3 separate regions of the Homo sapiens genome follow, and regions 1 and 3 are each linked to region 2. The links are contacts of gene promoters, found by promoter capture Hi-C in human tissues and cell types (Jung and others, 2019). All regions are on one chromosome and are shown on one strand. Each heading gives the region's core, a stretch centred on a gene start or on the middle of the fragment in contact. The rest is flanking DNA. Distances are from core to core; before and after follow the strand shown. Region 1 overlaps MICU1 (mitochondrial calcium uptake 1). Region 2 holds the start of OIT3 (oncoprotein induced transcript 3). Region 3 overlaps MICU1 (mitochondrial calcium uptake 1).

What was found. The method cuts DNA at HindIII sites, captures the fragments that hold promoters and counts their contacts. A contact is called where the count stands out against the background at its distance.
Region 1: a contact is called between a fragment that was not itself captured here and the fragment with the promoter of OIT3 in region 2, in 1 of the 25 tissues and cell types used here (IMR-90 fibroblasts).
Region 3: a fragment that was not itself captured here is called in contact with the fragment with the promoter of OIT3 in region 2 in 1 of the 25 tissues and cell types used here (IMR-90 fibroblasts).

Annotation. Positions count from the first base shown.
Region 1 is chr10:72,570,851-72,574,034 of GRCh38, reverse strand. All of the region lies in intron 1 of MICU1 (mitochondrial calcium uptake 1), which reads left to right. Among named protein-coding and RNA genes, the nearest start is that of MICU1, 54 kb to the left of the region's middle. The HindIII fragment of the contact is 4,136 bases long and covers 1-3,184 here.
Region 2 is chr10:72,892,004-72,895,072 of GRCh38, reverse strand. OIT3 (oncoprotein induced transcript 3) reads right to left here and starts at 1,334. Exons shown (of 9, transcript NM_152635.3): 1 at 1,214-1,334. The coding sequence starts at 1,274. The HindIII fragment of the contact is 12,875 bases long and covers 1-3,069 here.
Region 3 is chr10:72,528,801-72,531,784 of GRCh38, reverse strand. The region is part of intron 5 of MICU1 (mitochondrial calcium uptake 1); the gene reads left to right. Among named protein-coding and RNA genes, the nearest start is that of MICU1, 96 kb to the left of the region's middle. The HindIII fragment of the contact is 3,476 bases long and covers 1-2,984 here.

The DNA.
Region 1 (3,184 bases), core at 534-3,033, 320 kb after region 2:
GAAATATAAGGGGGTAAATCAAATATAAAAAGGCAAGCAGAAATTTTAAGTCAGGATAAGGATATGGTCTGGAATTGTAATAGTTTGCTAATTTGTGTAAGAATGTGCCAGTACTCAAAATAAAAGGATATGAGCTTGATTTACATAAAGTTTATCTCACTAGGGAAGCTTGCCATAATGTGCCTTGATTGTTGAGACATTATTGGGCCTGAGCTCAGTGGTGGGGCTGGTAAGTGACAGTTCCTGGCTGAGGGGAATGCAACAACTGCCTTCTGGGCCTGCCTTTATTTTTACTTAAATGAAAAAGTTTAAATAAAATCCCTAGGGGAGCATTAAATTTTATTTGCCTAATTTAAATTTTATTTATAAATAAAAAATTAACCATGTGATTATATATTTTACAAAGTTTAATTGGCATGTGCATATTACCTTATATTCTTCCTTTAAACTTAAATGAAAATGCTAATATGAAATACTGTACATTTGTTTGCATGGATAAATACATAAATTTTGTTTCAAATGAAATAGCATATCATAAAAATCTCTCTGTATGTTATCTTATTTCCAACTCCCACCAGCACCACTACTATTACTTTTTGTGAGTGTGTTGTTACTTAATAAGTACATATGCGTTCTTATTTTCTCCTTTTTTATATGAAAGGTGGCATACTGTATGTGGTATTCCATATGTTGCCTTAGTTTTTTTTTTTTTTTTTTTTTTTTTTTTGTAGTGATGGGGGTCTCATTATGTTTCCCAGGCTGGTCTCAAACTCCTGGACTCAAGTGACCCTCCCATATTGGCCTTCCAAACTGCTGGGATTACAGGCATGAGCTACTGCGGCTGGCCTATTGCTTTTAAAAAGATAACACTATGAACTTTTTTCATGTTTTTACATAAAGTTTTCTCATTCTCTTTATTGCTATGTGGTATTGCTTTATATAGATTTATCATACTTTAACCAATCTCTCTTGGTGAACATTGGGGTAGTTCTTAGTGTTTTGCTATTATAAACTATGATATAATAATTATGCACCATATACATGTGCATAATTTCACAAGTGTGCAAGTACATCAGTAGGGTATATTATTAGAAGTGGAATTTCTAGGCCAGTATATGCAGATTATATGAGTAATTTTAATGCAAATTACCAAATTGCCCACCATAAATTGTACAGATTTGCATGTTCATCAGTAGTGCCATTCTGCAACATTGTCAACAAATGTGTTTTCAAACTTTTTGATTTTTGCCCGTTTGATGGGTGAAAAGTATCTGAGTATAGGTTTAATTTGCATTATTTTATTATGAGTGAGATTAAGTATCTTTTCACAGTTTTCGGAGCCATTTTTCTTTTCCAACTGTCTTTTTATATCTTTACCCAACTTTCTGTTGGTTTGTGAAGTAATATTTTAATAATATTTTATTATTATCATTTTTAATATTTACATTCCATTCCATTATGTTATTATAGCATCATTTATTTTTCTGTAGTTGGGCATTTGATCTACTTTTAGAGTGTGGCTGTTATATTTTTTCTGCTGAGAACAGTTATTAAACAGGTTTTTCTCATTAAGTTTATTTGGGAGTCAAAAATGCAAGGATCTGTTATAGGTTTTTGTACTAATTAGCTATGAGGAAATCACATAACTTATCTGGGTCTGAGTTGGTAAAACTCAGAACTTTCAAAGTTTGAAATCCCCTAGAGCCATAGCATATAGAAATGGATTGCCCAAACTAATAAATCTTGAATACTTTATATGATCTTAGTCTTTTCTCCTAAATGAAATTAATTAAATTTTGTTATAGTGTTTTCTACCAAAGATATGAGAGTGCTAAAGAGATAAAAGGAACCCTAAGCTCACCTACGCAATTCTTTCATTTTACCAGTGAGTGAGCTTTTTTCCCAAGGAGGAGGGATGAGCTTCTTTAGTATATACAGCTAGCTGTTGAGTAGTACAGTTGAGACCAGATCTTGGATCATTGGATTTCTGCCATACTACTTAGTGTTTGTTTTTTTTTTTTTACCATAGTACCTAGTGTTGTTGTTATTGTTTTAATTTATTTCTCCTTTTTATCTTCCATATCTCCTGTGCAATTAGATATTAATATGTGTTTGATACCAATGTCTTTATCATTATTTTTTTTTTAGAGGTGGGGTTTTACCATGTTGCCCATGTTGGACTTAAACTCCTGGGCTCAAGCTATCCTCCCACCTCAGCCTCTTTAAGTAGCTGACGTGTGCCACCATGCCCAACTACATTTTGTTTTTCTTTGGAAATTTTTTGTTTGATTCTGTTTTTTATTTCTACACTTATAATCTAGGCACTCATCACCCAATACCTAGGTTATTAATGCCTTCTGGCTGTACTCATCACTTTCCTGTCAGCTCTCTCTGCCTTTGCTTCTTTGCAGTTTATTCCATGCACTGCTAATAGATAGACTGATAATGCTTTAACCCGTTTTTACCATGATCTCTTCCTATTAAAGAACTTGAGTGGCTTCCTATTTTACATATGCTCTAAATTCTTGGTCTGGCATTCAAAGGTCCTTCTCAAGTGATTGTGGCTTACTTAGTTGATCATATGTCTAGCTGTTCTCTACATCTGATCAGATGTTGTAAATTTATCTTCCAGGCTTATATACCCCTTGCCTGTTAGAACTTTTGGCTTTTTGAGGTAGGGTCTTACTCTGTCAACCAAGCTGGAGTGCAGTGGTACAATCTCGGCTCACTACAACCTCCGCCTCCTCGGTTCAAGTGATTCTTTTCCCTCAGCCTCCTGAATAGCTGGAATAACAGGCGCCTGCCACCAGGCCCAGCTAATTTTTGTATTTTTAGTAGAGACAGGGTTTCACCATGTTGGCCAGGCTGGTCTCGAACTCCTGACCTCAAGTGATTTGCCCGCCGTGGCCTCCCAAAGTGCTGGGATTACAGGTGTGAGCCACTGCACTCATCCTGTTCCAACTTTTGAATTGGCTGTTATTTATTTTAAACATTGAAAACTTCCAAGTGTCTGTTCTTTCTGTTGTCAGTGATGAATAATGTTTCCTCCAGATATGCATGTTTTAGTTTAGTGCTCATTTTTGCTGTAGCGAAGAGCAGTGCTATTTATGTGAGTGTACATGTGGATTTGAGAAATGTTAATTTTGAAATGAACCAAAAAAAAAAAAATCAGAAGTTGCCAGAC
Region 2 (3,069 bases), core at 85-2,584:
GGCATGGTACCTTTGTCACATTAATGACCCACTATTGATACCTGATTATTAACTCAAGTCCACACTTATTCAGATTCCCTTAGTTTCCACCCATATCTTTCTGTTCCAGGATCCCACATTACCTTTAGGTGTCAGGTCTCCTTAGGGTCTCAAATCACCATTTTTATTTTTATTTTTATTTTTTTGAGATGGAGTCTCCCTCTGTTGCCCAGGCTGGAGTGCAGTGGTTCGATCTCGGCTCACTGCAACCTCCACATCCCGAGTTCAAGTGATTCTCCCGCCTCAGCCTCCCAAGTAGCTGGAATTACAGGCATGCAACACCATGACCATCTAATTTTTTTGTGTGTATGTATTTTTAGTAGAGACGGAGTTTCACCATGTTGGCCAGGCTGGTCTTGAACTCCTGACCTCAGGTGATCCACCCGCCTTGGCCTCTCAAATGCTGGCATTACAAGTGTGAGCCACCGTGCCTGGCCACAAGCCTATTTTTAATGTGTATCCTTTCAGGTACTAGAGCAACCATGAAGAAATAAGCCAGGGTCAATTAGATACTGAGCTACTCAAAAGTGTCAAGAAGGATGGTTCTCTCCATCTCACCCCCACCCTCTGTTCCAGTTAGTACTCACATTCTACTAGAAAAAGATGCAAGAGAGAAATCTGTTAGTAACTGGAATTGAAACTTTTCTTTGCCTGACTGGCCAGTTTTGCACCAAGCCTGAGGAGGGAGACAATTTAAGATTCACTCGATCTGTGCAAAAAGTCTTATTTTCTGACATAAAGACTAATGAGTTTGGTTTATCCAGATCTGTGCCCCCCATGGCAACAGAGCTTTCAGTCCCTTGCCTTCATTAAAGAAAAATTCTATGCTCAACTTTAATTTTTTTTTTTTTGGCTCTTCAAGTTGGAACTATAAAGTGCCTAGAACACAAAGAAGATAGAATTATTTTTACACATACTCCAGGAACTCTTTAGCTAGTGAAAGCTGTGGGATATGGCAGATCCATGGAAATTTTGGAGTCCAGGCAAGAGGCTAAATGGAACATGTAACAGAAATTCTCGGGAAATCTATTTTCAAGGATTATTAGGGACTTTTCTTACAAGATTCTAGAGCTAGCATTTAAGGTACTGGAATCTAGTTCTTAATCATCTGTACATTATAGCAAATTGCCACAACAAAAAGTGCATTGTGCCAAGTTCTTGACATGAGACTCACCCACGGGTGACACGGAGGTGCCTGTGATGAAGAGGCAGGTGAGAAGCAGGAATGGAGGCATCCTTCTGGACCAACTGCCAGAAACACTGGAAAATCCTCTTAATACTGGTGTTCCTTTGTCCCCTTCTCTTTCAAGCACTTTTTTTTTTAAGGCCTCTAGGCTCTCACGAGAAAGACTTTATCAGCACTGGTAGGGGCTTTATCAGAGGAAGAGGATGAGGATGAGTGGGATAAGGTGTCCACAGCTCTGGCCTTGGCCCCAGAGAGAAGCACTGCTTTACACTGTCAACAGGGTTCCTTTATTAATAGTTTTCTTTAGGAAAAAAAAAAAAAAACACAACTCACAATCCCTCATCCTCCTATTGTTTTCTCTCAAGAATTCCCTGCAATGAAACCCCAGTATCTTATCCAGAAGGGAATTCTAAATGAGGGACATCCCTTCACGTCAAATTCTTGCTTTGTGACTTCTAGGAATTGATTTCACAATGTTGCAGCCATAGCACTGCACACTAAACGAGAATGGATGAAGCCAAATCACTGCAACTGTCTTGGTCAGATGGTTGAGGAGCTTATAATAGCACACAAAACAAAGTAGTAAGGACAGGTATGAGACAAGGACAGTATTCTCTTGAAATAAGCTCCTGAGTTTGTTTTATTACGGTCTTTGGCCTCAAAACTTCTGAAAGAAACAAGGTTTAAATTGTGTTTTTACTAATTCAAGCAGCAATACCTCATATTTTTATTGTCTTTACTCCCAAAATTAAAAAATGGTTTAATGTTATTTATTTCACTAATTCTCACATTAAGATGGGGTAGGAGCTTAAAATTAGAAACTACTCATTAAATTAACACTCTGGAAAATTAAATGTCAAAATTTCCTGAAGTTTCACTTTTAGACAAAGGAGAGAAAATGTGCTTCTTAGCACAATTTTTTTTTTCAGACGGAGTCTTACTCTGTCGCTCAGGCTGGAGTGCAGTGGTGTGATCTCGGCTCATTGCAAGCTTCGCCTCCCGGGTTCACGCCATTCTCCTGCCTCAGCCTCCCAAGTAACTGGGACTATAGGCGCCCACCACCACGCCCAGCTAATTTTTTTGTATTTTTAGTAGAGACAGGGTTTCACTGTGTTAGCCAGGATGGTCTCGATCTCCTGACCTCGTGATCCGCCTGCCTTGGCCTCCCAAAGTGCTGGGATTACAGGTGTGAGCCACCGAGCTCGGGCAATCACTGGTTTTTGACAATGACAAAAGTACACATGGTCTCCAGAAGCACAGGGTTTATGGTCAAGCAAGGGGTTTCCATTGATCTAAAATTGTAGTTAGCTACTTCATTACTAACATCAGTGGGACACAGGCAATTTGACCATTAACTTATTAAGTTGTGGTTTGATGGCAGCAATGGATGACTCTGCTGTCTCATTGCAGGATAGTGTTGCTAAGTATCAGTGCTTTAAACAGAAAAAACAATCCCCCACAACTTCCTGCGCCTAGGAAGCCATCTGAGGGCTTCATATGTGTTGCAGAGAAACAGAGGACGTGTGCATGAGATAAACCCAGACTTGTTGCCAGGATTGATTGCTGGAGTCAAGGACTTTCACCAGATAGCCTTTGGTTCTGTAAACAAGAATTCCCAGGATGGTAAGATGTTTTTTCCCCCTTATTTCTATTTTTTCCTTTTTAGTTGACCTGCTCTTTCATTTTTTACTTTTTATGATGAAAAATTTCAAATATATATACAAAAGTATAAAGAACAATAATGAACACTCAGCTATAATAATTACTAACATTCTATCAATTTCATTTACATACCAGTATGCATTTCTAACACATTGTATTTTTTTACATAATCATGATGCTTT
Region 3 (2,984 bases), core at 433-2,932, 360 kb after region 2:
AACTGTCAGTACTTTCTCAACTGTCAGTCTTTTCATTTTTCTTTCTTTTTTTATTTTTTATTTTTTTTGAGATGGAATCTCGCTCTGTCGCCAGGCTGGAGTGCAGTGGCACCATCTCAGCTCACTGCAACCTCCGACTCCCTGGTTCAAGCGATTCTTCTGCCTCAGCCTCTTAAGTAGCTGGGATTACAGGCACACACCACCATGCCCAGCTAATTTTTTTATTTTTAGTAGAGACAGGGTTTCACCATGTTGGCCAGGATGGTCTCGATATCCTGACCTCATGATCCGCCCGCCTTGGCTTCGCAAAGTGCTGGGATTACAGGTATGAGCCACCATCATTTTTCTTTAGATCTTCATGACTCTTTTGTTCTCTCATCCAGAAAATCTTAATTCTTAAGTAACTGCTTCTAGAATATATGAATTCTAAGACAATTTTCTGTTAAAAAAACAGATTTGTGTGTAATGATATTATAGTAATTTTATGCATTATAGCCAGAAATGTAGTTAGAAAGCTAAACACCTAAGAGGAATTTCCTTTTAGACTTGCTTTGATTTTTAAATGGATAATTTTTTTCCCTCTCCCTCTGTTTTTTTTAATTTGGAAGATAAACTATTAAATCTTAGAGAAAGAATTATTTACTCCTATTGTCTTAGCCCCCATTATCTTAACTTTTAGCACACCATTTAACAAAGTCCAAAATTTGACCAGTAACAAACACTAGCTTATTTTATTGCCTTCTAATTGAATTAAACTTCAGCCTTTTTGTCATTGAAAGTAAGAACAAATATAAAAATAATATTTTCCTGGGATGTTTTAAATTTCTACCTGAATAATGGAACCTCCAGATGCAAAATAGGAAAGAGTGGTGCAACTGATATTGACAAATAATTGGATAGTTATTTCTTGTTTTGCTAAAATATTTTTTTCCTGATCTGTTTAATTAACTAGAAGGTTCCCTGTAAGAAGTAAATAAGACATTACTATTTCAACTGATAGTCAGTGAGAACTGAATTTAATTAAGCAGCTTTTGAATTTGTAGTTGAATCTTTTTCCAGAGCCCATTATTACTTTATGTTAATGGACACTAATACTTTTAGAATACTAGAAATTTCCCTTGTAGAAAAGTTATGAAATACATTATTATTGGCACTTGCATAGTCTATTGCATTTCCAAACCATCTACTATCATAGGTCTCGTATAAAGAATGGTAACAGCTATGGTTACCACTGGTTTTAAGAATATGTTTCGTAGATAAGTGATATTATTTTGAAAATATGAGACTAGGTTTAAAAGTTTAAAACTTCAAATCTTGAAAGAGTTCGGATTTTCTCTTAGAAGACATTTGAAAATTATTATAAATAGCTTATTAGCATTATAGAGATGGTAATACAAAATATATTCTGGCATTATTATTATTATTATTATTATTATTATTATTATTATTTTGATATGGAGTTTCGCTCCTGTCACCCAGGCTGGAGTGCAATGTCGTGATCTCGGCCCACTGCAACCTCTGCCTCCTGGGTTCCCAAGCGATTCTCCTGCCTCAGCCTTCTGAGTAGCTGGGATTACAGGCATCCACCACCACACCCGGCTAAATTTTTTTGTATTTTTAGTAGAGACGGGGTTTTACCATGTTGGCCAGGCTGGTCTTGAACTCCTGACCTCAGGTAATCTGCCCACCTTGGCCTCCCGAAGTGTTGCGATTACAGGCGTGAGCCACCATGTCCTGCCAGCTTTTGTTTTAATGTAATATGTCATAGATTCTTTCTAAATGCACCTTCCTGTGTTGAATCCTTCTTGTGAAAAGAAAAAAAAAAAAAAAAAAAAAAAGCACCTTCCCCTAGTATCCATGTATTCTGCTAACAATTTGTCAATACAGTCATTTCATGAATTTGGATTATTTATTTAATGAAAACTATATTTTTTCTTTGTTTCATTTATCATCTTTTATGATTTTACCATCTAGTTGGCATATAAAACAAAGCAATTATTTCTAAGTGGAGGCTTTATTTTACATTATTGTTAAATATTTCTTTCATGTAATCATTTAGTTGCTCTCTTTTATTTGCATGATTTATTTCAAGTGGTTTGTAGCCTTCTTTATTTTCCCATTTTCTCTTACCCCTTTTTTCCTTCAGCAAACCAAAGATAGAAATTATATTTTGTATTTCCTGTTTCTATTGCATGTAATAGACAACTTTCTCCACATCAAACATCACCATGTTTTTTTATAAAGTCACAGAATAAAATTTCTTGGTATAGATGAAATTGTTCCTTAAGCAAGGAATACCAATTTCCGCAACGTTGGATTCAGTCCCCTTATGTCTTCTAAAAGCTATAGTTTATACACTATTTTCAAGCAATAAAATTGTCTATTGAAACCAATTGTTCATTATCATCATACCACCATGTATTTCTTTTTTAGAGAATAGATTTGTTATTCTTTCCTACCTATTGATTCCCCTTTCCCCCAACCTCTCCCTGAACGTTTCAGAAATACTGCCTCTGAATTGAGTTTTTCCATTATTTGTAACTACAGTCCCCTCAGAACCTTGACAGTCTCTCAAACTTGGAAGAAAAAATTTATGTGTATTTTATTTCCACCTCCTTTATGTTATCTACAAGAATATTTGTTTACATGGAACAAGAAAACATTTTACATCAAATAAAAATGAAATATTATCCACATTTATCTGTAAAGAGATAAAAGTATAGTCAAAACCAAGAAAGGGAAGTATTGATTATAGTGTTTATAACAGACAATATGATTAGTAGAGGAACAGATGGAAGTCATAGTTGAAAATCAAAGCTTTAATATTACTACATTCTCTTTTACTAGGTGAAAGTTCTTTTTGAAAATATTAACAAATTAACTTTAAAATACCATTCCTTTTGGGGGAAATTGTTGGTTCTTCTAAAGAGAATATGAACACATTTTTTCCTATAATGTAATACTTCTTCGTGCTTTATTCGAGT